3 separate regions of the Homo sapiens genome follow, and regions 1 and 3 are each linked to region 2. Evidence: promoter capture Hi-C in 16 types of primary human blood cells and fetal thymus (Javierre and others, 2016). All regions are on one chromosome and are shown on one strand. The core of a region is centred on a gene start or on the middle of the fragment in contact, and the rest is flanking DNA. Distances in the headings are between cores, read along the strand shown. Region 1 has its middle 3.2 kb from the start of QSER1. Region 2 holds the start of TCP11L1 (t-complex 11 like 1). Region 3 has its middle 12 kb from the start of CCDC73.

Region 1 (2,700 bases), core at 7-2,506, 150 kb before region 2:
ATGGAGCAGCGGGGCGGCGCTCATCGGGGAGGCTCCGCCCCACAGGAGCCCACAGCAGGGGGTAAGACTCAGGCATAGCAGGCTGCAGGTCCCGAGCCCTGCCCCCCGGGGGAGGCAGCTAAGGCCCGGCAAGAAATCGAGCACAGCAGCTGCTGGCCCAGGTGCTAAGCCCCTCACTGCCCAGGGCTGGCGGGGCTGGCTGGCAGCTCCGAGTGGGGGGCCCGCCGAGCCCACGCCTACCCAGAACAGGCACTGGCCCGCAAGCGCCCCGGACAGTCCCGGTTCCTGCCCCCGCCTCTCCCTCCACACCTCCCCTCAAGCTGAGGGAGCCGGCTCTGGCCTTGGCCAGCCCGGAAAGGGGCTCCCACAGTGCAGCAGTGGGCTGAAGGGCTCCTCAAGTGTGGCCAGAGTGGGCGCCAAGGCCTAGGAGGCGCCGAGAGCAAGCGAGGGCTGCCAGCACGCTGTCACCTCTCAGGACTACAGGTGCACCACCATGCCTGGCTAATTTTTATTTCCTTTCTGATGTTTTAATTTAATTTATGATGTTGACCTAAGAGATGGAAACCAGGGCTGCTCTGGCAAAGACAGGGCTTATAGTTTCCCTCAATGCCAGAAGAGAAGGGAAAAATTTAAAACCATATCTTCTTTCCCTGTTCAAATCACTTCTCACACACATATTCCTTGTATTCTCAGTGAAACCACAAACTTGACCTTCTTGGATCTTTCTTCTTGATGGTTGGTCTATTTATAACATAGGAATGTGTGGACTTACTGACTACATTTCTAGTTAGGCAACCCCAAATTCTGCATTTCCCAACAAGCTAATGAACAAGGCCACCTCAGTGAAGATGGGGTTTCCTGGGTCTCACCCCAACTGATTCCCTCCATCATCTTAAAGCAAGTCACTCAATACCAGGCCTCAGCTTCCTCAACTACAAAAGGAAGGCAATGAACTATGTACTCAATAGAACTACAATCTTTCTACCAGTTGAAATACTTATTTTCTTTTTTTTTTTTTTTTGAGAGGCAAAATCAATTACTTCCTTTTCAATTGTCCTCTGGTGCTTTATTCCAATTTCTATTATATTTAACACTATCCTATTGCATTACAATTAGTTGTGTGTCTGCCTCTTTTCCTCATAAATTACAGGTTCCATAAAGACAGGCGTTGTATTAAATTTACCCTCGTATTCACAGCATTTAGTATTATGCTTGGCACTGTATTAGGCTCTAAATACATATCTATTGAATGAATAAATATGTAAGCTACTTTAAAAATGCCCATTCAGGCTGGATGCGGTGGCTCATGCCTGTAATCCCAGCACTTTGGGAGGCTGAGGTGGGCATATCACGAGGTCAGGAGATCGAGACCATCCTGGCTAACACGACGAAACCTCGTCTCTACTAAAAATACAAAAAATTAGCTGGGCGTGGTGGCGGGCACCTGTAGTCCCAGCTACTCGGGAGGCTTAGGCAGGAGAATGGCGTAAAACCCAGGAGGCAGAGCTTGCAGTGAGCCGAAATCGCGCCACTGCACTCCAGCCTGGGCGACAGAGCAAGACGCTATCTAAGAAAAAAAAATGCCCATTCAGAAGTTCCAATTAGTCATTTACATATTCCTTTCCTTTCCCCCCCAAAAAAGAAAAACCAAAACACTCTATCTCAATTCTAAAATCGGGGCAAGATTTGAAAATTGATTAAATCAAAGGCAGTTTGGTTTTAAGATGAATTGGAGTAAATCCTACACTTAAGAAGGAATCTTCCAGCACTTTGGAAGGCTGAGGTGGGAGGATTGCTTGAGGCCAGGAGCTCAAGACCAGCCTTGGACACCATAGCGAGACCCTGTCTGAAAAAAAACAAAAAAAACTCTTTCCTTCTTCCTCACCTCCATCTCCCACTTCCTTCTGAGTTTATTGTCTAGAGTTAGTCATGCCTTAGAACATGCCCATGAACAATCTCCCCACATTTTCCACCCTAACTCCCATCCCATTAGAAAATCAATACGTATTTCACAGGTCGCGGTGGCTCACGCCTGTAATCCCAGAACTTTGGGAGGCTGAGGCAGGCGGATCATCTGAGGTCAAGAGTTCGAGACTAGCCTGGCCAAAATGGTGAAACCCGTCTCTACTAAAAATACAAAAAAATTAGCTGGGCGTGGTGGCATGCGCCTGTATTCCCAGCTACTCAGGAGGCTGAGGCAGGAGAATCGCTTGAATCCGGGAGGCGGAGGTTGCAGTGAGACGAGATCACCCCACTGCACTCAAGCCTGGGCGACAGAGCGAGACTGTCTGAAAAAACGAACAAACAAAAACACGGGACCAACAATGCTCATTCTAGAGTTTGACATTACCTAGATCAGACTTGAAGCAGCTTGGTTACGAATCATTTGAGAGATCCCGAAACGTTCACAGAGCTGGAAGTATATTTTCAGTAGGGAAGAAGACATTCTTCAGATAGTATCATCAAGTGTACAAAATTTTTAAAAGATTTATTTACATATATCAAAGCATCACATTGTACCCCATAAATGTATGCAATTATGATTTGTCAATTAAAAATAGTATTGATAAAAAATGTAATGATGTTATTTGTAGACATGTAACATTTGAAAATAAATATAATTGTACTGATTTAGAGTGAACTAAGGAAATTTCATTTAAATGGCAAAGGAACATATGGTGACAGAGTAATATTACTAAA
Region 2 (2,700 bases), core at 60-2,559:
GTAGCTGGGATTACAGGCATATGCCACCATGCCCGGCTAATTTTTTTGTATTTTTAGTAGAAACGAGGTTTCACCATATTGGCCAGGCTGGTCTCGAACTCCTGACCTTGTGATCCACCCACCTCCGACCTCCCAAAGAGCTAGGATTACAGGTGTGAGCCACCGCGCCCAGCCATTCTTTGTAGATCTTAACAGTTCCATTTAGTTGAGTATCTTAAGGGTTTTTGGTGTTTTTTCCTCCAAAAAGTGAATCTTCACCAGAGAACTTCTGTTTTTGTCTTTTTTTTTTTTTTTTTAAAGCAAAGACTTTAATGTGCAAGTTAGTAAATGGTTTGAGGGTCTGGTATTGCACTCGGCCTTCAATACGTTAGCAATAACTACCCACATGTGATCTATTTAGAAGCAGTGTTTGAAAGCACCAATGTCACCCCATCTGCTTTTTTGTAGTTTTTTTTTGTTTGTTTGTTTTTGAGACAGAGTCTCGGTCTGTCTCCAGGCCGCAGTGCAGTGGCGCGATCTCGCCTCACTGCAACCTCCGCCTCCCAGATTCAAGCGATTCTCCTGCCTCAGCCTCCCGAGTAGCTGGGACTACAGGCGCGCGCCACCACACCCAGCTAATTTTCGTATTTTTAGTAAAGACGAGGTTTCACCATGTTGGCCAGGATGGTCTCGATCTCTTGACCTCGTGATCCGCCCGCCTCGGCCTCTCAAAGTGCTGGGATTACAGGCGTGAGCTGCTGCGCCCGGACTAACTTTTTTTTAAAGCTGAGGAAATGAGAGAAGGGGAATAAACTTTGTGTAGCTACAAACAGGATGGCAAAATTAAATTTCAAAGAACGGGCGGGGAAGGTTTCAGATGCAATGGCTTCTTATTCCTTCTTTTGACTGACCCGCGCCTTCTCCGCCTCCCTTTCTCCTCGCGTCACCCGCACCAGCGGCTGGGATGCGGCGCGCGTTCCGTCTTTCCGTATGGAAACATGGCGCCTAGGGGCGGGCCATCCCCAGCTTCGAGCCACCGCCAGCTGAGACTCATCGGCGGGCACTCGGCCATGCCTCTCGCGTTTCCGTACGAAAACATGGCGCCTCACTGCGTGCGGCGGGCGACTCTTGGCTGGGAGCCACTGGCCACGGAGCCCCCTGAGCGGTCATCGGCCATGTTTTCCACCTCTCCCTGAGGAAACACGGCGCCGCCCAGCTGCGAGTCACCGCTTACTGAACCCCTTCGGCAAGCAGGGGAAAGACCCTCCCGCCTTTCCGTACGAAGACATGGCGCTGCCCTATATTGGGCTGGCGCCTCCCGGCCAAGAGCAGTCTCCTCCTTCCTGATGCTGAGAAGCGGCCGCTCTGACCGCTGCCCACCCGAGTCGGGCTGGGAGGACCGCCCGCCGCGTGGCGAGGGATGCGGCCTCGGAGGGGCAGAGGCTGAACCGCCCCTGCCTGCCGCGCATCCCTCCGGCTTCCGCCGCGGCGCCAGCCCGCGCCTGATTCGCGGCGGGAGCGGCAGGAGGGAGAACGCCGACTCCGTGGCAGGTGAGAGCGGGAGCTGGGGCGGAGGCTGGCGGGGCCCGTCCGGGAGGCGCGCGGTCCAAGTCGCAGGCATCTCTTCGCCTCTTCCCGTCGGATCCCATCCCGGGATGTCGGGGGCAGGCGAGGAAGAGGCGGGGTCCGCGGGCGGGTGGAGCTCACCCCTCGAGGCTGTCCTCTCGGCGCGCCCGCGTCCTCCCCTACTCCCGGCCCTGCCACTCCCTCGCTGGCCTGAACAGCTGTTTACAACGGAATCCGGACGCCGGGCGCGAGTGGAGCTCAGTGCCAGAGGAGGGGATTCCCGGCGCCGGGGGACAGAGCCCCTTTTTTCTTTTGCCGAAAGACCCTTTCTGCTGGGGAGCCTCTTGTGTCCAGCCTAGGCCCGCGTGCAGCGCCGACGGATGACCGTCTTCTTGGCAAGTGCGAGGATCCTCCTCCCCTCGGCTCTCTTTTTAGACACAGTGGGGGTTGAATGGATGCGCGCGATATAAGCAAATTAAATGGTTCGTGGCCGCATCCTAGAGCCCTTTAATTAGAGTTACCATTTGTAGAAGGCCTGCCGTGCACAATCCCTCGTTTCATCTCCCCCCAAACCGAGCAGGTAGGTAGCTGTGTTTTACAGAGGAGGACACTGAAGTTACACAGCTAGTAAAGAGCCAGAATTGGGGCCCAGGTATGTCTGAAACCAACGCCCAGCCTCCCAGATACAGTGACATCACAGAGATGACGTAGGGATTCATCTCTATCAACAGATACTTGTGGGTGTCTATTTGGGGGATATACAGATGGAGCATAAGTGGGGAATATGACTGGTCCTGGCTCTTAAGAAGTTCGAAATCTAGGTGGGGAATTTTAAAATAAAAACTAGCACTTTTACCATCTGGCCCCAACGCATCTTTCCATCATCTCTAGCCACTTCCTTTTCTCATTTTCTTGTGCCTTGGCTTCTGCCCTCTGAGTGAAATGCCCTCCTTTTCACCTCCTCTCCCCCTCCTCTCCCCCTCCAGACATGTTTTAACTAGGTGAAATCCTACTCCTTTTAAAGATCAGTTCAAATGTCATCTTTTCTGGGAAGGTTTTCTCAATCTCCTCCCAGGCAGAGTTAGTTTCTTCCTCTGCTATATTCCCTGGGCAATTTCATAATGCCACTTAAGTTTCATTATGGCTCCTTGTAAG
Region 3 (2,700 bases), core at 2-2,501, 230 kb before region 2:
TAATGCCAAAGTATGTAGTGAATGTTCATCCTCTGCCCAACCTTCACCTGCTTCTTCCTTCAAAATTAGTTCAGAATATAGATTAAACACTTACCTGTTCTTTCCCTGACTCAAACTGCAGAATAAAGGAGTGGATACAGAGACAAACCACCTTAAGAGAACAGAAAAAAGTCATCAGAAAGTAGTTCTATCTCTGCAATCATTGATACACTAATTCGAACATACAGAACCTTGTATCTCAAAGAAGGCTCTTCCATTACTCAGGCTGAGTAGAGTGAGTTTCTAACAATAGTGTCCCAGCCTTAAGAGTGAAAAAATGAGGCAGTTACCCAGATAATTAATTTAATTTCTCTTTCAATTCTCTTCAGTTAATGATATAGACATATCTTCCACATCTTATTTTCTGCTTTTCATGTTAATGCTATTTGAACTTTTATTTGATGTTCATAAACAAGTTATACCATTTATGCACCTAAAGACTGCTTACAAACTTTCCAAGGTCACAGACTCCCTTTATTTCAATCATAGTAAATCCCTGTGACATTAATAAGCATTCCACATAAGTAGGAAAAGGATGAAAGAGCTCTTAAAACTTATACTGCTATAAAATATACTAAAATGCTTGCTGGGCCCCTTTATTCATAGAGTTCAGTGAGTCAAGTCAAGTGTAAGAAACTATATCCAAAATGTGGGTCTAAGTTAAACAAAAATATAAAACACAAAGCCAACTTGAGGTAATTTTCTGAAGAAAATCCTTCAGATCAGATTTATCTACCATACAAATTGATATTTTGGCCAAATGCGGCTTGAAACATCCATATGAAGTCAGTTAAAAATTCCACAAGACATAGCAAGAGAGACCTAGACCAGTCTTGGGAAAAGCTATGGTATTATTTTTCAGTTAATTTCCACATCTTTATGCCTTTCCCCCCTGCTCCTGACTAGCCCTCTGAGCCACCAAGTGCTTCTCTGTGGAGACTCAACTGGAGCTGACCAGTCACAGGCCTATACTCAAGTATAGCATTAAAGAATTTTAGAGCAAGAAGGAAATAAAATTCTCAATTCAAACTACAATGCCAATAATTAAAGCCCAAAGATTTCAAATACTTTTCCCAAAGTTAAACAAGCTATAGCTAATTCCAAATCTGTGGTTCATTTTGTGGCCTTTGCAGGATCTAAGACTCATTTTTGGAAAGTCCTCTTTTCTTGTTATGAAGTAGTAAACTAATTTGACCCAAGATAATAATGGGTTTAACTCACATTGCCCTATGTGAACTTCCTGACTAATATGTGTATAATCTTTGCTGTAAGCAGAAAACTAGTTAAAGGAGGTTAAAAATCCAAGTTTATTTCCATTATTGAATGTAGCTATTTTTGTGAAAGCCAAACCTCTTAAAATAACACTTAGATTCCTGTTGATTGGTGTTGACACAAAGGAGACACAGGAAAAATCATGGAGAAAAAAGCTAGTCACTGCCCAGGCATGGTAGCTCACCCCTATCATCCCGCACTTTGGGAGGCTGAGGCGGGTGGGGGGATCCCTTGAGCCCAGGAGTTCAAGACCAGCCTGGGCAACACGGTGAAACCCCATCTCTACATAAAATATAAAAATTAGCCAGGCGAGGTGGTGCACACTTGTAGTCCCAGCTACTCGGGAGGCTGAGGCGGGAGGATTGCTTGAACCCAGGAGGCGGAGGTTGCAATGAGCTGAGATCATGCCACTGCACTCTAGCCTGGCAGCCTGGGTGACAGAGCAAGACCTGTCTCAAAAAAAAAAAAAAAGAAAGAAAGAAAGAAACGAGAGAAAAGTCTTCCAAATAGACTTCTTTCAGGTGGTTAGCCTCCCCAGGTCCAAATCACAGAGCTGGCCTTAAAGGCAAAATGGTTAGAAAATTCTTACTCAGGATTATGTGAGCAAAAAGGCCGGCACAGTTAAGAATTCTGATCTGATAGGTCTGACATGGGCCCCAGGCAGACAGAATTTGAAAAAGCATCTGTTTGATTCTGGTACTAACCTGCCGCGGTTTGCCACTGCTACTATGGGTCTGAGTGAAGGAAGACGAATGCAGAAATGAAAACTTAAGACAAAATAATCTGTTTTTAAGAAGGGGTCCAGGGAAGAAGAAGAGGGCTCCCTGCTTCTAGTGAGCAAGAGCAGCCACCCTGAGCTTCTACAGCCCTTCCTATTTATTGGGTAGAAAGAGCAGGGAGGAGGAGGTAACGATTGGTCAGCTGTTTGATTGATCACAGGTTCACATTATTGCTAACAGGCTTCAAATATGCCTAATCACAAGAAGCACTGCACTTTGGGTGTGACTGCCCTCAGCATTCCTTCTGGGCAGTGGACGCAGTTTGTCAGTTTGCCAACATCCTGCATTTATGAAAACAATTTGCTGTTTACTCGTATAGCTTCCAGTGGTATACTGAATTGATCACGACCCTCACTCTTTCGGCCTGCACCACTAACCCCTGCTGATAATGAAAGGAAATAAAGGAAAATCTCTAGACCCATGGAAAACATTCTGAAATTCAAGAGTAAGAGCTACCTAGAAATGAGGCCAACAAATATTTTCTAGAAAGGGCCAGATAGTAAATATTTAGGTTTTGCATGCCATACATAAAGTTTGTCCAACCCATGGCTTGTGGGCTGCATGTGGCCCAGGACAGCTTTGAATGCAGCCCAACACAAATTCATAAACT

Evidence for each region. The method cuts DNA at HindIII sites, captures the fragments that hold promoters and counts their contacts. A CHiCAGO score of 5 or more calls a contact.
Region 1: a fragment that was not itself captured here is called in contact with the fragment with the promoter of TCP11L1 in region 2 in 3 of 17 cell types (activated CD4 T cells, fetal thymus and naive CD8 T cells); the score reaches 5.6 in activated CD4 T cells.
Region 3: a fragment that was not itself captured here is called in contact with the fragment with the promoter of TCP11L1 in region 2 in 1 of 17 cell types (M2 macrophages); the score reaches 5.3 in M2 macrophages.

Annotation. Positions count from the first base shown.
Region 1 is chr11:32,888,251-32,890,950 of GRCh38, forward strand. No RefSeq gene overlaps it. Among named protein-coding and RNA genes, the nearest start is that of QSER1, 3.2 kb to the right of the region's middle. The HindIII fragment of the contact is 5,575 bases long and covers 1-2,700 here.
Region 2 is chr11:33,038,263-33,040,962 of GRCh38, forward strand. It overlaps TCP11L1 (t-complex 11 like 1), which reads left to right and starts at 1,310. Exons shown (of 10, transcript NM_018393.4): 1 at 1,310-1,530. RefSeq lists enhancers at 713-1,260, 981-1,330, 1,811-2,130 and a silencer at 1,311-1,710. The HindIII fragment of the contact is 10,463 bases long and covers 1-2,700 here.
Region 3 is chr11:32,804,864-32,807,563 of GRCh38, forward strand. It overlaps a transcript of CCDC73 not described here. Among named protein-coding and RNA genes, the nearest start is that of CCDC73, 12 kb to the left of the region's middle. The HindIII fragment of the contact is 8,561 bases long and covers 1-2,700 here.